Regions from separate parts of the Homo sapiens genome. Here all the other regions are linked to region 4. The links are contacts of gene promoters, found by promoter capture Hi-C in blood cells and fetal thymus (Javierre and others, 2016). All regions are on one chromosome and are shown on one strand. The core of a region is centred on a gene start or on the middle of the fragment in contact, and the rest is flanking DNA. Distances in the headings are between cores, read along the strand shown.

Region 1 (3,405 bases), core at 599-3,098, 420 kb after region 4:
AGGGGGCTAATTTTGATTTCCCTGTCCCTAAGGTTCCTAAGCCACCTAGAAAGGGAGTAACCTTAGGGGATACAAGTTAAGTAAAAGAATGCCATGGGCATACAGAAGAAATGATAAGAAAAGGTGATATTTTTCTTTTTAAAGACTTAAACTGATTATTTTTTACAGGAGTAACCATTCAGAAAATACTGCCCTTTTAAGCTTTCCAGAGGATGACACACGCTCTTATGGTTTATAGTCAGAATCCATGTCGAGCTGCACATGTGAAAAATGAATGTCATGTTGTTTTCAAGTAGTAAGCTCAATGTTTCTAATTTAGTTTTTTTTTTTTTTTTTTTTTTACAAGTTAATCTAATTTTGGTATAAGTGGAAAAGTTGATAATTAAAGAAAGCAGGTCCTTTCTAACACAAAGACCACTAAGGATGTTTTCTCCAGCAATTCTTAATAACTTTATAGTTTTTATTCCCTTGCAAAACATGGGTTTGGGGCTGTGCAGTTAGAGAATATGTATTGTTTAAGTGTAAATTTTAAGCACATAAGGAATATCCTATAACTTGTATTATTATCTAAAAATTGTTGTAATGTTTTTGAGGTTTTGTCCTGTTGATTTTTTTGTTGCTCTTTCTTTTTAGGAAAAATTCTTTGAAATGTTGGTCCTGCAATGCTCGCTGCTTGAAGCAGTGTTTTGTCTAAGCTTGGGTGGATTCTGAATTGTTAACATGTCTGTATGCTTGCCTGCTTAAGTTTTTGACAAAGACCTTCTTGAACTCTTAACTTTCCCAAGTAGAAAATAACAGTAGAGCCACTGCAGGAGTTAGTTGAGATATTGCTATTTTATAATTGAATTCATATGTTAAAAGCTCCAGGTTTGAAGTAGTATAACTTTTCTTTATCATATCACAAAATATCACATCTACTTGGCTTCTTAATCAATTGAATTACAGAGAAATGTAACACAGGTTCTAAATTAAAAACAAATAGGTACTATGACATTAAAATTCCCTGCACAGTTATACTATATTTACTTACTTGAATGAACTGTAATTAAAAAGAGATGGGTTAAATTATTACCAATTGTTGAAGGTTTAGTTAAATTTTAGGTGACGAAACTGTGAAAAGGGATAGGAAAGTCATATTTTTGGAAGGCTTTTATGTATAATGTCTTACAAGAGTACCTAGTTCCTACTTTGGCTCACCTAAAAGACTGGAAGTCGTAAACTTGGTAACATTGTTTTCAAATTGAATAAATATTTCATGGGAATTTAGAATTCTGGGCTCATTCTCACTAATGTCTGTTTTCTGACCCTACGGCATAGATTATTTAAAAACTACTAACATGAAATACGTATTTTTTCCTGCCTTACGTGTTCTTTGGGAGTTAAAAAATTTTTTCTAGTTATTTTTGGTGGGGAAGATCTTGCTACAAAGAGGAGTGAGACTATTTGAGCATTTCAAATAGACCTATTTGAGCATCCTTTTGGTTTATTTTGAACATCTTTTGATGTAGGGTCTATTTTTTAAAAAAACATATAGGGCAGATGTTACTATTAATTAGTCTTATCTAAAGTTTAACATGCAAATTAGAGAATTGTAGGAGAAAGTAATTGAAAGTGTTATACACATTAAAAATAAGCAGATGTCATTTGGAAAACAAATAGATACTTGAGATTATTTTATTACTTCTTCAGCAGGTATTTGCTGAACACCCACTATGTTCAGGTGGGAATGAACGTGGTAGACATGGCCCCAGACGTCAAGTACGTGTGTAAGGGGCGTTAGTAATGCACATCCCCAAAAAACATTCCTCTTACTCTTCTAGTGTGGTGGCAGAGGAAAGACAGAAGTAAACAAACCAGAGCTGTTTTGGGTAATCACTGTGTTAGTCCGTTCTCACACTGCTATAAAGAGCTACCTGAGACTGGGTAATTTATGAAGAAAAAGAGGTTTAATTGACTCACAGTTATGCAGGCTGTACAGGGAGTATGCCTGGGAGGCTGCAGGAAACTTGCAATCATGGTGGAAGGGCGAAGGAGAAGCAAGCACATCTTCACATGGCATCAGAAGAAACAGTGAAGGGAGAAGTGCCACACACTTTTAAACCATCAGATCTCATGATAACTCATTATCACGAGAACAGAAAGGGGGACATCCGCCCCCATGATCCAATTATCTCCCACCAGGTCCCTCCCTCAGTGCTGGGAATTACAATTCAACATGAGATTTGGATGGGGACACAGAGCCAAACCATGTTAGTCACTAAGTGCCGTGAAAGGGATGAACTACATGTGGTGTGATAGGGCAGAGGGTGGGTGTAGACCCTCCAGGTGCCGTGCCCAGAGATGCGGGTTCAGGAGGAGACACCACTGCCCATGGCCCACCTCTGTCTGTCTCTTACCCCACCTTGGGAGTAAGCAGACCTTTCCTGGGAGCCCCTAGCTGATTTCCTTTCCCACCTTGGGAGTAAGCAGACCTTTCCTGGAAGCCCCTAGCTGATTTCCTTTCCTGTCTCATTGGTCTGAAATGAACCCCATACTCATGTCTTAGCCCGTCCATTCTCGAGGCACTCCTGGGGCTGCGTTACACCAGGAAAGGATGGGTAAGCACATTGGGGATTTTGTTAGATAACTTGGTAGTTAACAAACCCTGACCACTACAGGTTTTCTTAATAATAGGTAAAATATATTGAGCACTTACTATTTGCCAGGCTAAGTGTTCTAAGTATTTTATGTGCATTATGCCATTTAATCCTTTTAACAGTGTGCTAAGGTAGGTGCAGAAACTGAGGCTTATGGAGATGAACTTGGCCTGCCTTGTGTGGTGGACCTGGGATGCTAACTGGGCACTCTGGTTTCAGAGCTTGCATCCTTAAAATGCAATCTGTGGAAAGTAGGAAATAGATTTTTGAAATATTCTGTACAAATTTGTTGATTATAATAAAGGCACTCAGGAGCTAAATTGGTTACTTTCAGTAGCTAGAAAATTTATTTATATGAAGCTTTGTTTTCTCTAGTGTAGAATAGTGATTATCTTTTTCACTAATTACATACAACAGAATATATCACCTTTCTATATGTTAAGGCTGTCTTGTTTACGGATCATTTCACGCTAGGTTTTGGGTCCTTTGGGTAAGGAGTGTGTGTTCTATCTTCCTGTGCCTGGCAGCCATGGTAGTGTGAGCTGGGCTCTGTTAGCCTCTTGGTTTATCTGAAACAGCTTAAGAATCTGTCTTAAGCCTAGCATTAAACATTGTGGTAAATCGTATTAGAACCCCGAAGATAGATTTTCCTCCCAATTTTAAAATTATTTTTTCTTACGTGTCCTTTTTTAGGGCCACTTACTGGCTTCTAGAGGTTTTATAAATGCACGTTTGATAATGCTAAACATAGGTAAAATAAGCAGAAGTT
Region 2 (3,372 bases), core at 226-2,725, 440 kb after region 4:
ATTTATATTGGTATCTTGATATAAAAATTGAAATTTGTTATAATGATAAAGAAATTAGAGATGTGAAACATGATTGATAAAGTAAGGAAGTAAAATTGGTAAAAATGCTTAAAGATATAATTTAGTGTTATAATACTTTTAGCTGAAATGTTTATTTATTGGGTTTAAACAACTATATATGTATGTGTGTATGTTTAAAATATATTCCATGAGGAATCGACCTTTAAGAATCATGAAGCATATTTTCCCCAACTTTCTTCACTCTTCTTTACAAGTCTTAATTTTTTGTATTGTGAATATTATAATGCCATTTCTCTCTGCTTTAATGTTCTTTTAAAGAACATTCAAAGATTACAGTGATTTAAAAAATTAACCTTGAACTCAAGAAGAACTCAATGGAGAATACAGAAGCACCTTAATCAATAGATGCCTTTTCCTCCCCTCACACACACACACAGTCCAAACTGCTGACAGAGCTGAGATTAAGCCAGGATTTCCTGAGGCATGGGAACTACCTAACTTGACTTACATCATGCTGAATTGAGAAAGACACATCATATTTATAATGCTTCTTTTTTTTTAAAAAAAAATAGCATTTTTGGCTGGACGCGGTGGCTCACGCCTGTAATCCAGCACTTTGGGAGGCCGAGCGGGTGGATCATGAGGTCAGGAGATGGAGACCATCCTGGCTAACATGGTGAAACCCCATCTCTACTAAAAATACAAAAAATTAGCTGGGCGTGGTGGTGGATGCCTGTAGTTCCACCTACTTGGGAGGCTGAGGCAGGAGAATGGCGTGAACCTGGGAGGTAGAGCTTGCAGTGAGCCGAGATCGCGCCACTGCACTCCAGCCTGGCAACAGAGCGAGACTCCATCTCAAAAAAAAAAAAAAAAAAAAAATAGCATTTTCACTAAGCTTCCACTATTCCAGGAATCCATCTGGCTATTTCATGTGTATTTGCCACCTTTACAATCCTAAAATGAAATTTGTGAATAACATATCCTAATTACACATGTTATTTAAAAAAATCCATATACCCTTTTTATGACAGTGAAAAAGGAAATGAAAAGCAAGTTGTTTGCCAGGAGAACTTGCATCTCAGTATTCAGATGTGGAGACCCTGCTGCCTAGGGTGTGGAGGAACTGCTCAGAGGCCACACTTTGGGAGCATCCCTGCTGTGGCAGCTGCAGATGCAGACTGTGGCACGTGGATGGCAGTGGAGACTCAGCAAGCACTGGTGGTGTGCTGTTGGTGTCATTGTTTCTTGAAATGGTCAAATTTGGTTAAATTTGGAATAAAATGGTAGTCTTCCTGTTTAACACATACTTTGTAACACATACGTTGTGCCTATGTAATAACTTGAGTGAGGTTTTACGCTCAGACAATTATAAACAGGTTTTTTACCCACGTGAATATTCAGCAGGACTTGAGGAAGTTGTGAGGAATGCAGAAGTCTTTGGCCGTGCAGACTGTCCTGGGTGTCTTAGGACCTCTAGTGTTCCTGGTTTCCACCCACTCAGTGCCAGTAGCATCCCCCAGTGATTGTGACAACTGAAACGTTCACAAATTCCCAAAACCCTCCTTAGGGATCCTGGGATGAGGGCTATCAGAGCCAATGGTTAAGCCCTAGCACATTTCTCTGCCACTTTCTGGAAATAGTGTTACAGGATCTTTGGGGTGTCATTTTTCTGGTTGGAAAGCTGTGGCCAGTGGTGTCTTTGTCCAACTTTTGTTTGGGCCTGCTGGGCTTGTTCCTCCCACTTGGCCTGGCAGGCTGCACTTAGCTCATGGTACCGGCCTGGATCCCACACCTCCAAGGGAGACTGAGTCAGGCGTGGACTGGCAAGACGTGTGTGAGTGAGTGCGGGGTTGGGCTACTGCACAGTCAGACATGCTGGCTGCTGCTGTGGGGCTGTCAGCTCTAGGTGCCAGCATGGGCACTGGCTCTCTGTGAGGCTGCGGCTGGACCAGGTGCACTGCAGACAGCTTCCCCAGCTGGCACCAAGGAATGCAATGGCTCCCAGAAGCTTGGAGATGCCAGGAACCATGGGGCCCCAAAGAAGGAGTCACAGCCCTGGCTTGGGGAGCTCCCAGGTCAGGGCTCCTTGAAGGACCACAGCTGTTCTCCCCTCTTCACCTGCAATTTGATGAGTGAGGAGCATGTTTCAGCCCTGTGTGTGTTACAGCTCTTTTAGCCTTGCCATTTAGTGGGTCCTGAGTTCTTGTCTTGTGACCAGGAAGACTGAGGTACGCAGACAAGTGGAGGGTGAGCAAGGCAAAGAGGAGCTTTATTGAGTAATAGAACAGCTCAGAGAAGACCCACAGTGGGCAGCTCCTCTCCATAGCCAGGGTGTCCCGATGAGTGTTCAGCTCCTAGCAGAGAGGGTAGCTCCTCTCTGCAGCTGGTCATCCCAACAAGTGTTCAGCTGTCAGCAGAGAGGGTAGCTCCTGTAGTCTGCAGCTGTCGGCACAGAGGAGGCCCTAGAGTGGGTGGCTTCTCTCTGTAGGCAGCTTGTCCCATTGTCTCTGCAGCTCTTAGCAGAGAGAGTAGCTCCTCTCTGCATCTGGTCATCTCATCTTCTCCCCATCCCCTGCCCTGCTCTAGCTGAGCCCGGGGCTTTTATGGGCCTCAGAGTGGAGGAAGTGTGTGCCAGTTGGTCCATGGGTGGTCATGGGCAGGCCCAGAAAAGTCACCATAAGCCTGCAGTGTGGTCTGTGGGACTGGTGGCCTGGCTCCCAGCCTTCATGCCCTCCCTGGCCTGAAGGTGGGGTCTCACCAGGGACCTACCCCCTTCCACCCCGGAGCCTGTCTGCTTCCTGCCATGGTCTGTGGTACCCAGGCTGCTCATCCATGGGGTACCTGCAGGCCAGCATCAAGCTGCTCTCAGTGTCCCCCTAGGTTCCACATCCCATGCTTGTCAGCACACAGAGTCTGGAGGGAGCTGAGGTGGCAGGACCCTCACATACCTGGCTGGGCTGTGACAGCTCCCCGGCTTGGCCCCAACCCCATTCGGAGATCATAGCAGGTGCCTGGAGCGGGGAGAGGCCAGACAGTGGAGGTAGGCACCTCCGAGCCTGCAAGGGCAAGGCGGGGGCCTTCCAGGGCCCCCAAGAGTGCAGAGAGGCCCGGGTCCACAGCCCCACCTGGGCGGCTGCAGATGTGTCTGGGAGGGCAGGGCTGGTGCCTGCTCCTGGCTCCCGGTTCCATGAAGCGGGAAGTCCCAGCTGTGCCCCCTTGCAGCCTGGGGGCTCTAGGTCCTTGCTGGGCCTGGGCTGGTGTCCAGGGACATCACTGTGAGCTCCCCCGTGGCCCCCGCACTCAGGGGCAGCCTAGAGCTCCCCCTCATCCCGCTTGCGGCCCTTCCCCAGG
Region 3 (3,599 bases), core at 644-3,143, 280 kb after region 4:
AAACATCTCAAACTGCTGCGTTCTAATCAAGTCAAGCAGCCAATGTTGTTTTTAACATTTAGAGTCTCTACTTTATGGGACACTGTGATCCATACAATAAATTTTTATCACAAGCTGGCATTTGCTCAACAGGTTCCTGGCTACTGAAGTGGATTACCCTTGGGCCCTCTATCAAGATGGCTTCATGTCTGGATTCCAGGTGACTTGGATAGTTTTCACTCTACTAAACCACACTACCTATAACGCACCTGATCTCCCTTGAGTGTCAGAGTTGGACATCCTGCCCTGTAGCACCATAACGACAAGAGAACCCAATCTTGTAGAGTCAGTGTGATGGTCTGGGGACATAGGAAATGCCTCTTTCTACACAGAAGGAAGATTATATTACGTAGTCCTGGTGAGTTTTTTCCCCATAATTGTCATCCAACATAAACGTCAGTCTCCATACATACGGCCAACAAACACGTGAAGAAATGCTCAGCATCACTGATCACCAGAGAAATGCAGGTCAAAACCACAATGAGACACCATCTCACACCAGTCAGAATGGCTATGGTTAAAACGTCAAAAAAATAACAGATGCCGGTGAGGCTGCAGAGAAAAGGGCATGCTTATACACTGCTGGTGGGAATGCAAATTAGTTCAGCCCCTGTGGAAAACAGTTTGGAGATTTCTCAAAGAAGCAAAAATAGAATTACCATTCAACCCAGCAACCCCATGACTGGGTATACACCCAAAGGAAAATAAATCACAAAAGACACCTGCCCTTGTATGTTTATCACAGCACTGTTCTCAACAGCAAAGACATAGAAACAACCCAGGTGACTATCAATAGTAGATTGGATAAAGAAAATGTCAGCCGGGCGCGGTGGCTCACGCCTGTAATCCCAGCACTTTGGGAGGCCGAGGCGGGTGGATCACGAGGTCAGGAGATCGAGACCATCCTGGCTAACAGGGTGAAACCCCGTCTCTTTTAAAAAACACAAAAAAATTAGCCGGGCGTGGTGGCGGGCGCCTGTAATCCTAGCTACTCGGGAGGCTGAGGCAAGAGAATGGCATGAACCTGGGAAGTGGAGCCTGCAGTGAAGCCGAGATCACACCACTGCACTCCAGCCTGGGCGACAGGGCGAGACTCCTCTCAAATAAATAAATAAATAAATAAGAACGAAAAAATATCAAACTTATACACCACGGAGTACTACAAAGTCACAAAAAAGAATGAACACGTCCCCTGAAGCAACATGGATGCAGCTGGAGGCCATTATCCTAAGCGAATTGACACAGAAACAGAAAACCAAATACTTCATGTTCTCACTTCTTTTTTTTTTCTTTTGAGACAGGGTCTTGCTCTGTCTCAAAAGCCCAGCCCAGGCTGCGGTGCAGTGGTGTGATCACAGCTCACTGCAGCCTCAATCTCTCAGGATCAAGCAATCCTCCCACCTCAGCCTCCAAAGTTGCTTGGACTACAGGTGTATGCCACCATGCCCAGGTAATTTTTTAAAAATTTTGTAGAGACAGTGTCTTGCCATGTTGCCCAGGCTAGTCTCAAACTCCTGGGCTCAAGTGGTCCTCCCACCTTGGCCTCCCAAAGTGCTGGGATTATAGGCATGAGCCGCCACACCCGGCCTGTTCTCACTTATAGGCTAAACCAATGTTTAGCTTCACCACAAAAGGACATGAAGACGGGAAAAATAGACACTGGGGACTCCAAAAGGAAGGAAGCTGGGGGCATGGGCTGAAAAACTACTCATCGGGTACTATGTCTGCTACTCGGGCAATGGGATCATTAGAAGCCCAAACCTCAGCATCACACAATATACCCTTGTAACAAACCTGCACCTGTGCCCCCGAATCTAAAATAAAAAGTAAAATTGAAAAACAAATACATACATAAATAAACAAAATGGAAAAAAAAAGAAATGTCAATCTCCCCTTCAAAATGCAAGGTTAGGACATTTTCTCAGCTGACTACTGAGCTCCCAAGGTTTTTATTTTAAACTAAATTTAATGTTGACAAATATTTACAACTATTTCCATTTGGATGCTGTATATACTCTATACTACTGTAGCTGTTATTAAGAATATTATGTCTATCATTTTTCTCCAAAAATTTCAGAATGTTCTATTAAATCCTAACACAAATTTCCCTCAACCCTACATTGCCCCATAATCCTTATCTTGGGTGTTCCTCAAATATAACAAAAGAGGCTAAGGTACACAGCCAGCCAGAGCAGGCAACGCGATTATGAATGCAGGGTCCTCTGACACCGCAGGAGACAGTCCCCCACCCCCGGTATGCATTTAATATTACAATTCCATTTGCAGAATAGATCTCTCCCTACTAAATTTGCAGGATTGGTGTCAGAGAACAGGAAGAGCCCAAAGGTTGTGGTTAAGGGCTGAGAGACACAAAAAGCCTATGGATTACTTGAAATCCCAATGACTTGTGAGTTGTTACCGTGAGGAGGTTGAACAAAGGCAGCAGGGTTCAATGTATAAAGAGTGTCTACTAGCAGCTGATGAGGACGGCCATCTGCAGTTAAGCTAATTCATCTTGAGTGTTTAAGCATAACAGGACATCATGCCCTTTGTCCTTCTACACAACTCCTTCATTGATATGAATCAAGGAATTTTTGTCATTTTTTTCTGTTCTCTGTGTGTGTGTGTGTGTGAGCGCGCACGCGCATGTGTGTGTAAGATGGGAAGATCTTTCCAGTTTAAGATATCCCAAAGTGTCCTTGTCCATAGGTGGTTGACTGGGGAGTGGGCTACCCAGCTGTTTGATCTGCAGGGCCACAGTTTACTTTGGATCTTGCCTCGTTTTTGTTCTAAAGCCCTTGCAACATGCTGTGCCTGGTGTTGTTGCTCATCTCAGGTGGCTATTCTCCATGCTCATTTCTGTTTTTGAATTAGGTCTCCAACTTCAGGTTCAATTCCATTGACAAAGCCAGATGAAAGGGCTGTTGCTCCCTCAGCACCTCTGTAACGCTCAGCTGTCATCCAAAGTTGCTTTCTAGTCTATCTCGGAAATCTCCTATAGTGTCATCTTTTTTCTTTGTTTGTTTGCATGATTGAATTATGCTCCAGCAGATTTGTTTTGAAAACATTTGGGGTATGACTTTTAGGGCACTTGACCTACATTTTGGGTAGGTCCCTTTTTTTGACTGTCAGGTTTATTGTGGAAAGGGGAATCCTATAAGGCATCGTTCCTGGTCAGTCCAATCAGCTTTTACCCTCCAACCTTTAGCATCGGAGGTTCTGACCAACATGTGTACACGTTGACAAATGTACAAGGTACCCATGTGTACAACATGTGTACAAAGTCAGGGGTCCCTGGGTCATATGCCTCCAGAGGAATTCTAAACTTTTCTAATAAATATTTGCTGGTCTTCTTTGGCTTTAAGGAAATCATTTTTTTTTCAACTTAAAAAAAAATACAGACAGGGTCTCACTGTGTTGCCCAGGCTGGTCTCAGACGCCCGGGCTTAAGCAATCCTCCTGCCTCAACCTCCCTAAGTGCTGAGATTACAAGCATTAGGGAAATCTTTAATTATACCTCTTAATTCAGCCCAGGCCCAAGGCTTAAGTCTACAGTTTCC
Region 4 (3,293 bases), core at 2-2,501:
TTACTAAAAATCCATCTTAAGACTCTTTCTGCATTTTGGGAGGCCGAGGCGGGTGGATCACCTGAGGTCAGGAGTTTGAGACCAGCCTGGCCAACATGGTGAAACCCGGTCTCTACTAAAAAATACAAAAAATAGTCGGGCATGGTGGCGGGTGCCTGTAATCCCAGCTCCGTACTCCAGAGGCTGAGGCAGAAGAATCGCTTGAACCCAGGAAGCAGAGGTTGCAGTGAGCCAAGGTCGCGCCATTGCACTCCAGCCTGGGTAACAAGAGTGAAACTCTGTCTCAAAAAAAAAAAAAAAAATCTTCCCCACACATAATGTGGCAGGACAGGAAACACTAGGATTCCTCCAGTTTATGGGGAGATTGGGAGAGCTGAGGCTTCACAATGACACAGCCGGGTATGGAAAACACCAAAAGAAATATGCCTTTTTGGATGACAATACTCCACCCCAATTTCCAAGTATGCTACAACTTTTCCTCAGCCTCGATGGGAGGTATTTACAGTGAGTGGTAGAAGCTTTACTGCAATGCCCTGGTAGACACAGGCTCCACCAGGCTTGGCTTCTACACTCTCACTGGGTCTATGGATGAGCACAGAAGCCAGGTTTCTGGCTCACAGAGAACCTAAGTGCTGAGTTTATATATAAAGTGCACAGTGTGAATAATTAAATATGAAAACGTGTACACACCAAACAGGACATTTTTACTTAATGCCAAAGAAGCACAAACGACCCTTTCTTTTGGGAGTTTCACAAGCATTTCTGCTCAACAGTAATCCCCCAGTGACAGTGATAGTAGTGGTTTCAATATTTTGTTTATAAAAAGCAACATTATAAAATGCCCTGAAAGGTCTTGGCTTCTTTTGTGAGCTCTGAACTATTCAGAAATTCAGCTTGCTATCTGGGGACAACAAATAAATCCCTACTCTAAAAAAATGGGATTCGGGTTTTTCTCCTGTGCTGCTTCCTGGCCTTAACGCTTCCTGGGGACTTACCGTCATTTGCTCAGTTACGGTTTCTATGGGATGAGTGGGGAAGCCGCGTGGTGAGGAAGCCTGGCTCGCACCCGGCCTGCGCTCTCTCGGGCCTGGCCGCATCGGCCACCAGGGGGCAGTGTTGTCATTCGCTGGCGACGCCGCCCCGCCCCGAGCGGATGCCACCCCGTTTCCAGCCTCCGGTGCTCACCGTAAGCTCTGTTATTATTATCTTTTGATTTATAAAGCGCCGTTCCTCAGCAGATTCCCCGCCCCCCAGCTGCTTCCGAGAAAGCTCGCAGAAGCGTTCGTGCGCAGGCGCGGAAGCCCCGCACAGCACGCGGTGGGCCCGGTTCGGGGGGGCGCACGGCCTGGGGCGTCGGGAAGAGGCTGCGGGCAGCGGGGCCTGCGGGCGCGGCGTGGCGGGGCGGGAAAACGGCTCTGTCCCGTGGGGCGCAGGCAGGAACGTGTTCCCATAAAAGACACAGGGAAGACCAACCCTGGGCGTTAGCCATCCAAACCTTCCCTCCCGTGCGAAACCCGCTGCCCTGCGGCCAGGACTGTGAGGGAAGCGATGGGAGGAACCCGGGAGCCCGCGAAGGCCGGGCCCCAGAGTCCGGGCGCCCCTGAGCGGGGCGGAGGGGACAAATAGAACCTTTTTAAGGACAGCTGAAAGAGATTATAAGCGCGGTGTGCTGGGACTTTGGAAAGGGCGCGAGTCATTAGTGGGGGCGAATCAGAGGGGAGTATGTTGACGGGATAATAACAAAAATAAAGAGGCTTGATAAGAAAGACACGGCTTTTGGAGTCAAAGGGAAAATCCGGGACAATGAGGGTTGGCAGGTTCCTGGGACACAAACCAGGAAAAACAGGGCCACACCGGAGCGGCCTGCCTGGCTCCAGCACAGCCGGTGCAGAAGCTAATTTTGTTCCGAGTCCTCCTAGCTCAACAAACATGCCGCCATAGCACCTATTTTCTTTTAGGTAATGCTCACAACAACCTAGCAAAGTGGGGATCATCTTCACCACTGTACAGATGAAGAAATTGAAGGTCAGACATTCAAGGTTATGTGGCCACATGAGAGAAATACCAGAGCTGGGATGAAGACTCAACGGCTCTCAGACACCAGGTTGCTTCTTGAGAGAAGCCGGATGGATGTGCATGCAGGGAGGTGAGCCTCAAAGCAGGTCCAGCTTTCTCCCGTGAGTGTTCCAGTGGCTTAGGGTTAGGGTTAGGGTCCAGAGGAGGAGAGGCGTCCAGAGCTGGGGCCGTCTGCGTTTTGCCTTGCTGTCCCAGAGTGGCAGCGAGGAGTGGCCTGGCCTAGAGGGTCTTTGTCTTATCTTGTGACTTGCTGTTTCTCCTCTGTCTGCAGGAGCTGGGGGAGGTTGGAGAAGCCGCAGCCCAGAAGGGGAGGGAGGACACCATGTCAGAGCTTGCTGGAGCAAGCTTTGGAGGAAGGCCACAGGGGACATTGTCACCAAGGGCCACGGCAGCGTGCACCCTGGGTTAGAGAAAGGGGCAAATTATGGATATGAAAAATGCTTCCCTCAATGAAAAGGACCCTGCTGAGACAGGATGGCTGTGGGCCAAATACCCCTACAGTGCCTGATTCTTTTATCTTATTATTTATTTAAACAAGACCAGCATTTTGCTTTAGATAGAAAATCTCTCTCTGCTACAAAATTGCAAGCCCTGGGAAAAGTCTCCAAGAATGGCTGATGCCACAGTCAAACAATAACATACATGTCGGGGTGAAACAGTGCACAGAGGATGAAAAAAGGGAAAAGCTCGAGGCCCCGGGAGGAAGGAGCTGGGAGGGTGGAGGGCGTGGAGGTGTGAGGGCCCAGAGGGATTGCCCAGGAAGGTATGGAGGACCGAAAATGGATCACCAGCCCTCATGGACAACTTAAACTAAAGGTGGAAAAGACAGAAAAGCTGGCAGGGGGAATTGTCTCCAGCCAACCTGTCAACTTTTGGAAAAAGATGGATCACAAAGAATGGGAAGTGGAAGAGAAGGAGAGGAGAAACCAAGAATAAAGAGCAGACGCTGTGGGCAGAGCTGTGGGGCGCCCATGCTGGCAGAGCTGGGTTCTAGGGCCCTGGTTTCGGCTGTGTAACCGCTTGCCCAGCCCTCATCTCATCCCTCAACAATGAGGGCCTGGCAAGGGAGGGTATGCTGGCCTATTTTTGTCTCATGTATTTGTGGACTCTGTCCAGAAGCTCTGAGATGCCAAGTTAAAATGGAGAAGGTTTGAGTCACCGCCACCTGGCCAGAGCCTCAGTGAGTGGGACGCCAGGGCTGGGGTCGGGGGCTGCAG

Evidence for each region. The method cuts DNA at HindIII sites, captures the fragments that hold promoters and counts their contacts. A CHiCAGO score of 5 or more calls a contact.
Region 1: a contact is called between a fragment that was not itself captured here and the fragment with the promoter of LINC02521 in region 4, in 8 of 17 cell types (naive CD4 T cells, naive CD8 T cells, naive B cells and 5 more). The highest score is 6.8, in naive CD4 T cells.
Region 2: a fragment that was not itself captured here is called in contact with the fragment with the promoter of LINC02521 in region 4 in 7 of 17 cell types (naive CD8 T cells, total CD8 T cells, naive CD4 T cells and 4 more); the score reaches 7.5 in naive CD8 T cells.
Region 3: a fragment that was not itself captured here is called in contact with the fragment with the promoter of LINC02521 in region 4 in 2 of 17 cell types (endothelial precursors and megakaryocytes); the score reaches 5.6 in endothelial precursors.

The regions. Positions count from the first base shown.
Region 1 is chr6:2,209,644-2,213,048 of GRCh38, reverse strand. The region is part of intron 1 of GMDS (GDP-mannose 4,6-dehydratase); the gene reads left to right. Among named protein-coding and RNA genes, the nearest start is that of GMDS, 34 kb to the left of the region's middle. The HindIII fragment of the contact is 2,301 bases long and covers 698-2,998 here.
Region 2 is chr6:2,191,249-2,194,620 of GRCh38, reverse strand. All of the region lies in intron 1 of GMDS (GDP-mannose 4,6-dehydratase), which reads left to right. Among named protein-coding and RNA genes, the nearest start is that of GMDS, 53 kb to the left of the region's middle. The HindIII fragment of the contact is 1,113 bases long and covers 919-2,031 here.
Region 3 is chr6:2,347,810-2,351,408 of GRCh38, reverse strand. All of the region lies in intron 4 of GMDS-DT (GMDS divergent transcript), which reads right to left. Among named protein-coding and RNA genes, the nearest start is that of GMDS-DT, 100 kb to the right of the region's middle. The HindIII fragment of the contact is 5,231 bases long and covers 1-3,599 here.
Region 4 is chr6:2,632,458-2,635,750 of GRCh38, reverse strand. LINC02521 (long intergenic non-protein coding RNA 2521) reads right to left here and starts at 1,251. Exons shown (of 3, transcript NR_149119.1): 1 at 996-1,251. LINC01600 (long intergenic non-protein coding RNA 1600) reads left to right here and starts at 1,148. Exons shown (of 3, transcript NR_131168.1): 1 at 1,148-1,186; 2 at 1,959-2,146. The HindIII fragment of the contact is 1,903 bases long and covers 521-2,423 here.